Linked DNA regions of Homo sapiens: regions 1, 2, 4 and 5 are each linked to region 3. The links are contacts of gene promoters, found by promoter capture Hi-C in blood cells and fetal thymus (Javierre and others, 2016). All regions are on one chromosome and are shown on one strand. Each heading gives the region's core, a stretch centred on a gene start or on the middle of the fragment in contact. The rest is flanking DNA. Distances are from core to core; before and after follow the strand shown. Region 1 overlaps MPP7 (MAGUK p55 scaffold protein 7). Region 2 overlaps MLLT10 (MLLT10 histone lysine methyltransferase DOT1L cofactor). Region 3 holds the start of ENKUR (enkurin, TRPC channel interacting protein). Region 4 overlaps WAC-AS1 (WAC antisense RNA 1). Region 5 overlaps SKIDA1 (SKI/DACH domain containing 1).

The links. Contacts are between HindIII fragments. The CHiCAGO score rates a contact against its expected background, and 5 or more counts as called.
Region 1: a fragment that was not itself captured here is called in contact with the fragment with the promoter of ENKUR in region 3 in 1 of 17 cell types (fetal thymus); the score reaches 6.5 in fetal thymus.
Region 2: a contact is called between a fragment that was not itself captured here and the fragment with the promoter of ENKUR in region 3, in 2 of 17 cell types (naive CD8 T cells and naive CD4 T cells). The highest score is 6.3, in naive CD8 T cells.
Region 4: a fragment that was not itself captured here is called in contact with the fragment with the promoter of ENKUR in region 3 in 1 of 17 cell types (fetal thymus); the score reaches 9.4 in fetal thymus.
Region 5: a contact is called between a fragment that was not itself captured here and the fragment with the promoter of ENKUR in region 3, in 3 of 17 cell types (activated CD4 T cells, naive CD8 T cells and non-activated CD4 T cells). The highest score is 11.9, in activated CD4 T cells.

Annotation. Positions count from the first base shown.
Region 1 is chr10:28,299,388-28,302,087 of GRCh38, forward strand. All of the region lies in intron 1 of MPP7 (MAGUK p55 scaffold protein 7), which reads right to left. Among named protein-coding and RNA genes, the nearest start is that of MPP7, 2.3 kb to the right of the region's middle. The HindIII fragment of the contact is 1,034 bases long and covers 925-1,958 here.
Region 2 is chr10:21,538,608-21,541,307 of GRCh38, forward strand. It overlaps MLLT10 (MLLT10 histone lysine methyltransferase DOT1L cofactor), which reads left to right. Exons shown (of 23, transcript NM_001195626.3): 3 at 226-305. Among named protein-coding and RNA genes, the nearest start is that of MLLT10, 5.7 kb to the left of the region's middle. The HindIII fragment of the contact is 1,652 bases long and covers 574-2,225 here.
Region 3 is chr10:25,014,815-25,017,514 of GRCh38, forward strand. ENKUR (enkurin, TRPC channel interacting protein) reads right to left here and starts at 1,344. Exons shown (of 6, transcript NM_145010.4): 1 at 1,046-1,344. The coding sequence starts at 1,122. THNSL1 (threonine synthase like 1) reads left to right here and starts at 1,798. Exons shown (of 3, transcript NM_024838.5): 1 at 1,798-1,878. RefSeq lists silencers at 1,350-1,399, 1,730-1,929, 2,110-2,189 and enhancers at 1,473-2,235, 1,546-1,840, 2,440-2,519. The HindIII fragment of the contact is 2,880 bases long and covers 1-2,614 here.
Region 4 is chr10:28,526,490-28,529,189 of GRCh38, forward strand. All of the region lies in intron 1 of WAC-AS1 (WAC antisense RNA 1), which reads right to left. Among named protein-coding and RNA genes, the nearest start is that of WAC-AS1, 4.5 kb to the right of the region's middle. The HindIII fragment of the contact is 496 bases long and covers 1,180-1,675 here.
Region 5 is chr10:21,520,070-21,522,769 of GRCh38, forward strand. It overlaps SKIDA1 (SKI/DACH domain containing 1), which reads right to left. Exons shown (of 4, transcript NM_207371.4): 3 at 1,320-1,411. Among named protein-coding and RNA genes, the nearest start is that of SKIDA1, 4.3 kb to the right of the region's middle. The HindIII fragment of the contact is 1,671 bases long and covers 483-2,153 here.

The sequences.
Region 1 (2,700 bases), core at 192-2,691, 3.3 Mb after region 3:
TGGTGGAGATATCAGAACATATGTAACATTTATCAGTTAAGTTCACCATATTATATAGGTGCAGTTCATGGAGCCCCAAAACAATTAGAATCGTAACATCAAAGATCACTGACCAGAGATCACCATAACAGACAGAATAACAATGAAAAGTTTGCAATATTGTGAGAATTACCAAAATATGACAGAGACACACAAAATGAACATACACTATTGGAAAAATAGCACCAATCGACTTGCAGGGTTGCCAACGAACCTTCAGTTTGTAAAAAACACAGTATCTTCAGAGAGCAAGCCTGACTAACAATTTCCTTCACTTTAAATTCAAAATGAAGGAATACCCTTTCCTTCCGAATGTATCTCATTTAACAAAATTCAAGACTTTTTTTTTTTTTTTTTGAGACGGAGTCTCGCTCTGTGGCCCAGGCTGGAGTGCAGTGGCACGATCTCAGCTTACTGCAAGCTCTGCCTCTTGGGTTCAGGCCAATTCTCCTGCCTCAGCCTCCCGAGTAGCTGGGATTACAGGCGCCCACCACCACGCCCGGCTAATTTTTTCTATTTTTTAGTAGAGACAGGGTTTCACCGTGTTAGCCAGGATGGTCTCAATCTCCTGACCTTGTGATCCGCCCGCCTCGGCCTCCCAAAGTGCTGGGATTACAGGCGTGAGCCACCATGCCTGGCCAAAACTCAAGACTTAAGTCATTCATTACAATTTTGTCTGAATTGCAATTAGGAGAGAAACAGCTGCAGTACCTTTGTATCTTTGTCAGTGAAATGTTTATAACAAGGAAAAACAAAAATCTGTTTGAAATCTCCAGTAAGCGCCCCCCAGTGCACCATCTAGTGGAAGTCAGGTAGTGTCATAATTAATTTAAAGAAAAAAGTCACAGAAACTCTGAAAACCATTGGGGGAGGGGGAGAAGTCAAAGCTTCAGGTAAGAATACAAGCAAATACTTTACAAACAGCCAAAATATCTTTCCAGTGTCCCACAATGCAAGAGGGCTGGGCTTATGAGAATAAATGATTCATTTTCTGTATAATCAACAGATGATAAAAGTTCCTTTATGGAAATTTTTGCTTGGGTGCTAGAAATTTTGACAGGAGAGTAAAAGTTAAATAAAGCCACTAAAACATAAATAAGTAAATAAATGCTGGGCTAGAGTGACAGCCTTGTGTAAGAAGAGTTGCCTTATATGTTACATGAATATGTTAAAATGTACATGTGAAACAGAGGTATTAGCCACAAAACAAGAGATAACTTCATGATTAGAACAGTTACATTCAGGCTGGGTGCAATGGCTCACGCCTGTAATCCCAGCACTTTGGGAGGCCAAGGCAGGCAGATCACTTGAGGTCAGGAGTTCGAGACCAGCCTGGCCAACATAGTGAAACCCCATCTCTACAAAAATATTAAAAAAAAAAAAATAGCTGGGCGTGGTGGCATGCGCCTGTAGTCCCAGCTACTCAAGAGGCTGAGGCAGGAGAATCACTTGAACCAGGGAGGCAGAGATCACAGTGAGCCACAGCACTCCAGCCTGGACAACAGAGTGAGACTCCACCTCAGAAAAAAAAAAAAAAAGAGTTCCATTCAGTAATCCATAAGACATTTTCATGTTCCTGATAACTAGTAAATTTAACAAAACCTAACGATTCTCTAGAATTCCCTAAGCCTTAACATCATACAAGCGGCTACTCCCAACTACCCATTTCAGCCTGTCCCACACTAATGCCCAAACTCCTTTGGTCAAGTTATTCTAATTAAGAAATTATTCTTCAATCCGTCTATAAATTTACAGTAAACACTTCCCGAAACAAAGTCATAAGTCATGATCAAAATGCATTACACTTCATTAGTATTTTCCTTCTGCATATCAATTATTTCTATTCAATTCAAAAAAAGGTACCGAAATTCAATGCTGAGCTAGAGATGCAAACACAAATAAGGTTCTCTAATTTGGAAAGCTTCCCAAAATTTAAAATAGAGATTTTCACACAGCATTCCTAACTTTTGTTTGTTTTGCCTGTGTGGAAAATTACCTTTCACCTGAAATTCAAACTAGCTAAGCAACCTGAATGGAAAGAAAAACCTCGCAGATAATATTTCTTTACTTGAAAATAACCATCTCCACCTCTGACCTGTGTATACGGGATCAAATTGGTATGCAGAAGTTGGCTTGATGGCGGGAATCTTACCCAGATTTTGGATTAAATCCATTATAGGTATAAAATAAAGTAGGAGTAAAGTGGGGCAGGATTCCTTTCATTTCTAGGGCTTTCAGTTGACATACCTGTAAAATGGACATGCTATGCACAGCCTGCCTCAGAAGAGTAGGAGGATGGCATACTATATAATTGATAGAGTGCTATGAGCTTCACGATTAAATGGAAATACTGTTTTTATAGAACCAGAGTGAACCTGAGCATAGAAAACTCTCCAAGGGCCATCGCTGTGACATTACCGCTAAAACTCAGTGACCTTCATCAATTCACTTGTAAACAAGCAATATATTGAGCAAGTCAAAGGAAAGGCAGCAACAATTCAAGATACTTCTTTATAAGTAAATCAAATTACGTAATTAATAGCCCAGGATTTACCTGCAAACTATTACTGCCTGACTAGCAGGTGCATCCCCAAAGCCTCGAGTACAGAGACTGTTTTTAGAGAGCCCCCCCTTTTTTAAATGTGAATATTGCTTTTAAAA
Region 2 (2,700 bases), core at 150-2,649, 3.5 Mb before region 3:
TGATTTATTTAGATGAGGTAACACAAAAGAGTTGCATTTAAAATTTTTACTTGTTAATTAAGTAAGCTGTATATGTGATAAATAGGATGTGAACTGTTTTACTTCTCTGTAAAGAGGTAGTTTACTTGAATAGTGACAGGTGGATTAATAGGGCTTTGAAAGGGTATTTGATTTTTCCATAGTTCTTCGAATCTTAACATTTTAACACATTTCATTTTTCAACAGCTTGCTATGGCATTGTTCAAGTACCCACTGGACCGTGGTTTTGCAGGAAATGTGAATCTCAGGAGAGAGCAGCCAGAGTGGTAAGGACTATTTATCAAAAACATTAAACTTTAGTGAGTAGGTTAGGAAATTAGGAACTGCACTCCTGTTGTGGTTTGTGGGGTTGTCAGTCATTTCTTCAAATATCATAATGTAAGAGATAATTTAGGCCAAATATTGACTTGGAGTATTAAACAGATTTTGTAAAACTGAAAAACAAATGGAATCAAGTGAGTATATTTTGGATACTTTGAAAACAAAAATACATAGTCATATTTGGGCTTTGTTAACTAGTTACAGAATCAAGAAAGCTTGAAGAAGTTTGAAGGTTACACTGGCTAATCATAGTTAAAATATAATGGAAATAGAAACATAAGGAAGTTACATTGATAATTCTCTTAGGTTTTGTGTAATGGGAAAAAAACCCAATAATTTTAGTGACTATCATATTCCTTTTACTACATCTTTGGGTGTATAGTTTAACTTCGAACACTCACTGATTTCAGGCATTCAGTCCCTTTGGCAAACCAACATAAAAATCTTTTTTTTTTTTTTTTTTTTAACTTGGGTGGTTACCTTATTTCAGAACTTTTCTAAACCTCTTATAAGAATGAAGGAGGTGCCGGGTGCAGTGGTTCACACCTGTAATCCCAGCACTTTGGGAGGCCGAGGCGGGAGTATCTCGAGGTCAAAAGATGGAGACCACCCTGGCCAACATGGTGAAACCCCGTCTCTACTACAAATACAAAAATTAGCTGGGTGTGGCAAGCACCTGTAGTCCCAGCTACTTAGGAGGCTGAAGCAGGAGAATTACTTGAACCCGGGAGGTAGAGGTTGCAGTGAGCTGAGATGGTGCCATTGCACTCCAGCTTGGGCAATAAGAGTGAAACTCTGTCTCAAAAAAAAGAAAAACAAATTACAAACATTAGCTGGGCGTGGTGGCACGCCCTATAATCCCAGCTATTTGGGAGGCTGAGGCAGGAGAATGGCGTGAACCTGGGAGGCGGAGGTTGCAGTGAGCTGAGATCATGCCATTGCACTCCAACCTGGGTGACAGAGCAAGACTCTCAGGAAAGGAAAAAAAAAAACAAAAAGGAGGTAGGCCGGGTGCAGTGACTCACACCTGTAATCCCACCACTTTGGGAAGCCGAGGCAGGAGGATTGCTTGAGTCCAGGAGTTTGAAACCAGCCTGGTCAACTTAGTCTCTACAAAAGAAAAATTTTAAAAATTAGTTGGGGCTGGGCACAGTGGCTCATGCCTATAATTCCAGCACTTTGGTAGGCTGAGGTGGGCGGATCACTTGGGGTCAGGAGTTTGAGACCAGCCTGGCCGACATGGTGAAACCTATCTCTGCTAAAAATACAAAAAATTAACTGGATGTGGCAGCGCGTGCCTATAGTCTAGCTACTCTGGGGGCTAAGACGGGAGAATCGCTTGAATGAGGGAGCCAGAGGTTGCAGTGAGCCAAGATTGTGCCACTGCACTCCAGCCTGCACTCCAAACAGAGTGAGACTGTTTCAAAAAAAAAAAAAAATTAGTTGGGCGTGGTGGCTTGCACCTGTACTCCCAGCTACTCTGGAAGCTGAGACAGGAGGATTGCTTGAACCTGGGAGGTTGAGGCTGCAGTGAACCATGACTCCAGCCTGGGTGACAGAGTGAGAGACTGTCTCACAAAAAACACAGTGAGGGAGGTATGTTTATCCTTTGTATCCACAAGCATTTTTCCCATTTGGATTTCTGAAAATATCAGAAATAGATTTTATTTTCATTAGTTATGCAAACCTACCATTTAAAATATGATAGTTCCTTTTTAAAATCTTATTATATTTATTGATTTATTATTTATTCCAAGACATCTTGTTATAGCAAATTCCTTTCCCTTGGTGTTGATTATGGAATTAGACTGAAGGTAGAGAACAAACATTTTAGCTTCTTTACCTAGGCATATAGCAAAAGCAGAAGCTTTTGTGTTTGCCTGGGCAATTTTTGAGCGGTAGAAATAATGGGCTGGGTGCTGTGGCTCGTGCTTGTAATCCTTGCACTGTGGGAGGCCAAAGTGGGTGGATGACCTGAGGTCAGGAGTTTGAGACCAGCCTGAGCAACATGGCGAAACCCCACCTCTACTAAAAATACAAAAATTAGCTGGGTGTGGTGGTGTGCACCTGTAATGCCAGCCACTTGGGAGACTGAGGCAGGAGAATCGCTTGGACCTGGGAGGCAGAGGTTCCAGTGAGCTGAGGTTGCGCCACTGCACTCCAGCCTGGGCGACAGAGCGAGACTCGTCTCACAAAAAAAGAAAGAAATAATGGTTGAGTAACCTATAAAAATGTGTTGAGTCTCAGAACTATTTGTATTTTATTATTTTGAGACAGTCTTGCTCTGTTCCCCAGGCTGGAGTGGAGTGGCGCAATCATTGCTCACTGCAGCCTTGAAGT
Region 3 (2,700 bases), core at 94-2,593:
AAACCAGATACTTAAAATTGAAGAAGCTGCCTACTTGTTGAAGCTATTACCCTAATACTAGTAAAAATAATTGACCATTAGATCTAAAAGGGGCCTTGGATATTATCTGGTACATTTATCTCACAGATCAGTAAACAAATGAAACTTTATTCTAAAGTTCACAAAGACAATTAATTGCTAGGCCCGATTTTTAGTCCAGTCCTTTTCAAATGTGGTTTTGACTTGCATACGGACAAGGATGATGGTAAAAGACAGGAAACATTTCAAGTCCTAGGAGAAATGAGATTTTCTCCACTACTTTCTTTGCTCCCCACAGATTTAAGTAAGTTCTAAGAAGTCCCTACAGATGGGAGTAACTGAAGTGCTTCCTTTGCACGTTTTTGAGATTTGGAGAATTTAAGAGGTTCTAAGACCTATGTAAAATTTCAACTCAATTACATATTTTTTGGTTCATTATCTATCCACCAATTCTTCCTTCCATTTAAACCATTAGATCTGAAAAAGTCCTTAGAAACTGCCTAATAGTGGTAGATATTTCGTTTCACTGATCAAAAACCTGAGGCTCAAAAGCAAATGTAAATTTATATTTCATAAAAATCTTGGGGGAAAAGTCCTATCCTATCCCATTAGAGAGGGAGTAGTGCAGTTAGAAATACAACACCGAACTCCTGAAACCAAACATCAAGTATCCTTAAACAAGATAATAGAATTGTGATTTTTTTCTTTTCAACATGAAACTTCATACTATGCTGTATATCACATATAATTAAATTACACAATAATCACATACCGTATTAATAAGAGGTTAAGTGTAATATAATAAAATGGTCATCTCACAGCGCCAGACTGCCCTCTCTGTAAAACTGTGAGATGCTGAATACCTAGATATTTCGACCTTTTCTCTAACAAGTTATCCTCCAAGGCTACTTCATCGAGGCAAAAATACATTTTATTTATTATTAAAAATTCCAGTATATGTATGCTTAATTAATACTGAGTATTCCCCATTCTTGTTTCAAGTGATAGTCTTTGCTTATCCACATACCTAGGAGGCTGGGGAGGCTCCTTCAAGTCACTGGGTATGAGGTTATAAATGCACTCAGAAGAGCACGTTGGATCCATGGCCACCAAATGACTCCTTAAAAGCTACTCTCCACAACTTTTTTCTCCCTGTCCCAGTATCTCCGTCCCTTTCTTCACTGCTTCCCCTTTCTTTCTTCTTCGCCTTCTGAAGGACCACAGGTTCTCTCCTTCACATCGTCCCCCTTTAACCCCCTCTTAGCAGTCCTCTCTCGGGAAGAAAACACCCTATTTCTCTCCGGATTGCTAAGCGTCGTTGACTGTGCGGTTGCCGTGGAAACCGTTACTAGGCAACGAGGAAGTGGCAGGCAGCACCGCAAACTAGGTCTCCCCTCTTCCCTCTTTCTGCAGCGCCTTCTGCTAGAGAAGCTCATTTGGAAGCCACTGTTTTTACGTGCCTTTGAAAGTTAACGGGGTGAAAATGATGTCCCCTTAAAAACTGTGCTCTTTTCTATTTCTGTGTATCTGGGGAAAAAAGAAAAATCCTAGTAGAGACGGCAAAGCGCAGCTGGTGCGCAGGCGTCACCCAATAAGGTTTTTGTGAGCAGGCCCCAATCGCGGTGTGGGCGGAGCGAGCGGCTGAGACCACGAGGACGCAAGGCCAGCGCCGCCAGGGAGACGAGGGAGGGGAGGAGCCTGAGGAGATCGGAGTGCTCGGATAGGCTACAGTGAGAAAGGAGAGTCACGTGCCCTGCGCGAGGCCGCTCGGGGAAGGGCGTGGAGCGGAGGCACGCTGGCCGCCGCAGGCACAGGCGCAGAGTCCACTGCGCGGGGGCGGGACCGGGGAGCTAGCTGCAGGTACGGTGCTCCGTCTCCTGTGGAGGCTTTAGCGGCTCGTGGACACTGCTCCCCCATTTCCTTTCATTTCCCCCGTCTTCTCAGTGAGATTTCCTTGGTGAGTTATTGGAGGAGAAAGGAAGGAAAACTAGAAGCCAGCCCGCTCCCATCGCATGCCTTTCCCCGTACCGTCCCTTCCCCTTTCCGCTACTCGCTGGTCATCTCAACTCTGCGCGCATTTTTCCTGCTGCTTCTGGTCGAGGCTCCTCGGAACGCCGCGCAGCCCTGCCCGCCACGTGTGTGAGTGCGCGCACGGGGCCCGCGGCCTCCTCCGCCTGCTGCGCTCGCCCTCCCGCCCCTGCTCCCGGGACCGCCCCTTGGGCGGTCCTCCGGGTCGGCTCTGCGCCTGCTCTTCCCCGGGTCGGGACTCTTCCTCTAGGTCGTTCTCCAGGAACCAGTGGACCTGCTCTTTGTAAATGAGCAGCCTAAACTAAGAGGAGAAGCCTTTTAAGTGGGCCTTTACGTTTTTGTCCAGTTTTTGGTGTCCCTTGTTGGAAAATTGTCTTCTGAGAAGCGGTTTTATTCCTTTTTGTTCCACCTGGTCACCCGTAAATCTATGCACATGGGCCTGCCGTAGGAAAGTCATTTAGACGCTTTTACCCGAGTGTTTAAAAGACATTTTGGTAATAGGATTTGGGGAGGAAGATGGATGCCTCTGAACCACCGGTACAGAGGCCACTCTGCCCGAAGGAAATAAAGCTTCCCGGAGAGGAGAGAAAACACACTTGAGTCTGGGTTTCTCACTGCCTGGTTGGCTGGCGGAGTGATTAAAACAACACAATG
Region 4 (2,700 bases), core at 178-2,677, 3.5 Mb after region 3:
GTGACCTAAAATGTCAATACGAGAGTAAAGAATGAAACAAGTGAGGTACCACAAATAAGACTTAGCAGATGTTTGGCTGAAGTGAGCAGTTAAGAGTATACGGTCAAGAAAGGGTTTTCTGGTGGTAGGATTTATTATGTTTAAAGATCAGTGGAAATAATCCAGATGAAAGAGAGTTTGAATATACAAAGGAAGGGATAATTGATAATATAAGGTGAACTGAAGGGGGGGTGGCAAGAAAGGACAGATAGAGAAAATGGCCTTAGATGAGAAGCTTACTTTCCGCTTTGAAACAGTAACCTGAAGCACTTAGGCAATGCTGTAGGATCCTAACTGGTTTCCCTGCTCCTTGCCTTGCAATACAGATATTTTCAACACAGTAGCCATGTCATTTTCTGCTCATAACTTTTCAATGGCTTCCCAATTAACTCAGAATAAAAGCCAATCTTCTTATAATGGCCTATAAGATTCTTCACAGTCTGTTCCTCCACCCACTTCTTTAACCTCACCTCATTTCCTAATATTTTCCCTCTCAGTCACTGCCCTTCAATCACAGAGCTTTCCTTATTATTTCTGAACACATTAGGCAGTCTTTCCTCAGGACCTTTGCTCTTGCTGTCCCCTTTGCCAGAAACATTCCTTTCCAGACACCTGTATAGCTTGCTACCTCATCACCTTCAAATCTTTGCTCAAACGCCATGTGCTCAATAACCACTCTACTTGAAAACATTACTCCTCCATCCAACACTTTACCTACTGTTCTCTGTAGCACTTATTACTTTCTAAATTACTATGTCATTTGATTTTGGTGATGATGAGGCTTAAGTGGAATCAGTATATTCTATTATTTTATAATCTTCAGCAGCATGCAACTGCTCAGAGGTGCTCAGAAAATGAATGGTTGGATTAACTCAGGTTGAAGTTTCGCCAGACACAGGTAAAGGGTTTAGGGTATGCTTCTCAATATTAGCTGAACTTTAGTATCTATTACTTGGAAGAACTTTAAAAAATGGCCAATCTTGAGTCAGTAAGTAATTCTCCCAAGATCTGTTGATTGCATTATTTACATCATCCCTGCCTAGTACCATATGTTGATATGGTGACGTCCTGGTGTTTACTCCCCTTTCCTAGATAGTAATTTTTGTTGCAGTTTCTTATTTTTCGTCATAATTGAATGAAAGCTTCATATCACAAATCTGAGATCCCAAAGCATCTCCTTTTAGTTATGTATTATTCTTAAAATACAAACTCCATAAGAGCAAAACCCAAGTGACTTTGCTTAACACTATGTTCCTAAGACTTGATACGCAGAACTTCAATACTATTTTTTCAAAATGAATAACCACCAGTAGCGAAACATGTATGTGCCAGGTACTGCTAAATTATTTACACAATTTCAATTACTTTTCACAAACAGTACTATACCCTATTAAGTGAAGTTTAGAGACAAAGCAGGATAATCCTCAAGACTAGTAATTTGCCCAAGGTGATGTTGGTAGTCAATAATGTAGCCTGAGCTCTACGCAATGTCATACTGATTCTAAAACCCACGCTTTTAATCACTATACTAGGCTGAGTTTGTGAGGAAGGCAAGGACAGAGAAAAAAGAGATAGAAATGAAGTATGTGAAAATTTTTGGAAATATATCCTTATGATGTTTTAGAAATTGCAACAAAGCTTTTTAAAGTCCCTTTTGGCCAGGCGTGGTGGTTCACGCCTGTAATCCCAGCACTTTGGGAGGCGGAGGTGGCAGGTCACAAGGTCAAGAGATCGAGACCATCCTGGCCAACATGGTGAAACCCCATCTACTAAAAACACAAAGATTAGCTGGGTGTGGTGGCACGCACCCATAGTCCCAGCTACTTGGGAGGCTGAGGCAGGAGAATCGCTTGAACCCGGGAGGTGGAGGCTGCAGGGAGCTGAGATCACACCACTGCACTCCAGCCTGGCTATAGAGTCAGACTCTGTCTCAAAAAAAAAAAAAAAATCCCTTTCACAACTAGAGGCTTGAGGATTTCACTTTTTGGTTCTTCCTTCAGTTCTTCCTTCAATAGAATCACATTAAAATCTTGGTCAACCTATATATAACCTATGAGTTGATAGTTTTTCCCCTCTATTGGTTGGTATGTATTCAGTCTACAGGTTGAAATATGGGTCTTTTACTCATTTGCAAACTTGATATTTCTCATTAGATAGCAGTGTAAATAATCTGCTTTAAGATTTGCTATACATGCAAATTCATGTACATTTTTTAATATCTATTACAATATTTTGCCTGTATTAGGAATAATCTAGCTTTATCCTCCATCTTATTTGTGAGAACAGGACTGGATTTGTAATTCTTTTATTCTTTCACAAAGCAAACAGAAATAGAACCCAAGCTTTTTCCTCTTGAGAATTCAATTTTGCTATTTTTATCGTATACGTTTCTGCAGGCAAATATCCTTTAATTCAACAAATATTTATGGTATGCCACATGAAGCATTCATTCTAGTGGGAAACAACCAATAAACAAAATATATGGCAAATGGTTTAGGAAAAATAGATCAGGGTTAAGGGAGCAACATGGTGGTAGGGCGCCATCATGTAGAGTTCTCAATTAAACAAGACAAGACTTAAGCAGAGACCTGAAGAAGTGAGGGTGTGAGCCAAGCAAGTACTAAGGGGGAAGAGGATTCCAGGCAAAGGGACAGCAGTGCA
Region 5 (2,700 bases), core at 68-2,567, 3.5 Mb before region 3:
TGAAATCTAAGGCTAGCATTTCCATCCAAGAAATCAGAGCTACAGCAAATTACATTTTTGTCCCTTGAATGAAAGAAGGATCATTGAATGGATCTCGTGATATTTCAGGCTTTAAACGTAACCGAGAGGCAGCAATGAACAATGCCTCGTCACAGCTAATACCATCCAGCGAGTTGGCTTTCTTTTGCATCTGGATCTATTACACCGTGTTTTTCTCTTTCACTTTCACAGGAGACAAAATGCACAAGGTTTAGGCAGAAAGCGAAGTTTCCAGGAAAAGCAGATGCTGGTGTTTGTTTTTAAAAGTAGAATGACCAGAGTCTTTCTATTGCCAGCAACAATAATGTCGTTTTAAAATTCCTTCTGATGCACTTATATAGTACTGCCAGCCCTCGCCCTCCCACCCCCACCCCCGCCATTCCCCTCCCCCAGCTTTAAGAATTAGACCAAAGAGTCAGCCAAGAAATAGTAAACTCAGAAAAAGCTTTTGAGAAGACAGTACAAAAGGTTGGCTAGAGCATCCTTTTTTTTTTTTCTCCAGGTAGTTTTAGTTGTTCTCCATTCCTGTTTATATTTCCTCTCTCTCTCTCTCTCTCCTAGTCCTCCTACACATAGCAACATGATTTAGTAGCTATTTCAAAACTACCTTCTTTTCCTCTCTCTTCCTCTCTTTCCACCTTTAAAATATTGGCAATATAGGTGGTTTTGAAAACTAGTAGCATATTAAGTTATTTTTTTTTAACTAAGGGCATAATCTGTTGGGTGAAATAGAGAAAAATAAAGGCTAGGGAATTTGAGAAATGTGTCTATATAGACTTTGTGCAAGTATCTCTATATGTACACTCAGACACCTTTACACTTATACATTTTTAATACTACTATTACACATCTTTCTTCGTGTCTAATACATTCTTTTGTTCCTTTAACTTCCCCATCCTTGTGTGTATGTGTGTGTTAGGCTCCAGCACTCTTGCTTGAATGAGTGCATGCACACACACACACACACACACACACACACAAACACAGAATGTGACAGACAGCTTTCTTGGGCCATCAGCACACGTTGCATATCCGGGGTCTTCTCCAGGCACATTGGGGGTCGATCCCGATAAAAAGATCTAGCAGAGGCCCCTGAGCGCTCACACATGAAAGGCAGGGGACTTTAAGATGGATTTGCATGCACACCGGGGATTTCGATCAATAGCTACCAACATTTATGGCTTAGATTATTAATGTGAAAGCTGGCCAAAAGAATGGGGATGAAAAATTAAAGGTGTCTGTTATCAATTATGCTTAAAGTTATGCAATAATTTACTTACTTTGCCTGATGTGCAGATCCAGATGTATAAAGTACTATTCTTCAAAAGCCAGGGGGTTTCTTTGATAAATTTGTTGACCATGTCAGCTGACTCTACAATCAAAGATGAACCCAATTCAGATAATGGACTGTATTCAAATTTTTTTAAGAAAAGATATATCAACTTCTATGTTTCTCAAATGCAAGTACATATGTAGATAGATATGTCCAAATTAACATTTATATATATATATCCTTCTCTGTGGGTCCAGGAAATTATTGTGAATTTAGGCACATGTATGATATGCATTGAGTTTAATTAAATGTGATTATTTACTCAGTGAGGAATGCCTAATCTACACACTATTGTAAAAAGTGCTTTAGCTTTGAAAACAAAGCTGCTTGCAAAAGGAAAATCCTCTTTAGCAAATAGAGATTGAAATATATTCCTAATGTCCACTTACTTCTGCATTTATTGTAAAAAATCAGCACTTTCAGTTTTTAAAGTGAAGGGCCATGAAAATATGAACATATTTGTCTTTACTTATCCCATATGAATGTGCTAGATTTACCTTTAGATGCTCTATTTTGATTTATTTTCACTGTATTTTATGTTTCAATACCATTGCAATTCAGTCTGACCTCTTTCCTCTGGAGCGAAGTAATGCACACGGCATTTACAGTCTTTTAAATGGTTAGCTGGGAAATGCAATAGCAATTTGCAGGAGTAGTTTACTAATGGGGAAAGTTCTTTTGAAAACCTGAAGGAAAACCTAAGAGTACTTTTGCATTTCTACACTACAACTGTCATATAATTAAAGTATTGAAGAGCATTAAAATAATCCTTTTCCTTCCAAGCTTTCACCCATACATACATAATTTAAATGAGGATCACAGCCACCCCCCCCCCCCCCCCCCCCCCCCCGCCACCAGCTCTTCACCATATACGTTTGTTTTAGTGATTGCTGGGCACATTTTGTTCAAAGTGAATTCAGACAGAAAAGAGTAAGGAACATCACAAAGGCCTCAACAATGTAAGTATGCTGGTTAAAAGAATAAAAGCCCCTTGTGCTATTAACTAAAAGTAACTATAATATTCACAAGATAAAAGTTTAAAATAATAATAAAGTCTCATATGGCTGAATTAGTTGAGGATATAAGACAATAAAATCTCAACAGTTCTTTAGCTAAGTTTATCTAATATCACATCTTCTCTGCTTTTTGGGATGGGAAAATGGGAATGAAGGAGTAGAAAATGGCTAAATTGAGAAACAAATGATAACTTAGTATATTTCCTTTAATTTTTTTTCTTTCTGGTTCATTTGAACAAATCAGGGTAAGTCTCCAAAAGGGCCCATCCCTCTGTTCTTAGGCATTTAAAAACCCTGTCTTTAACAGAAGTT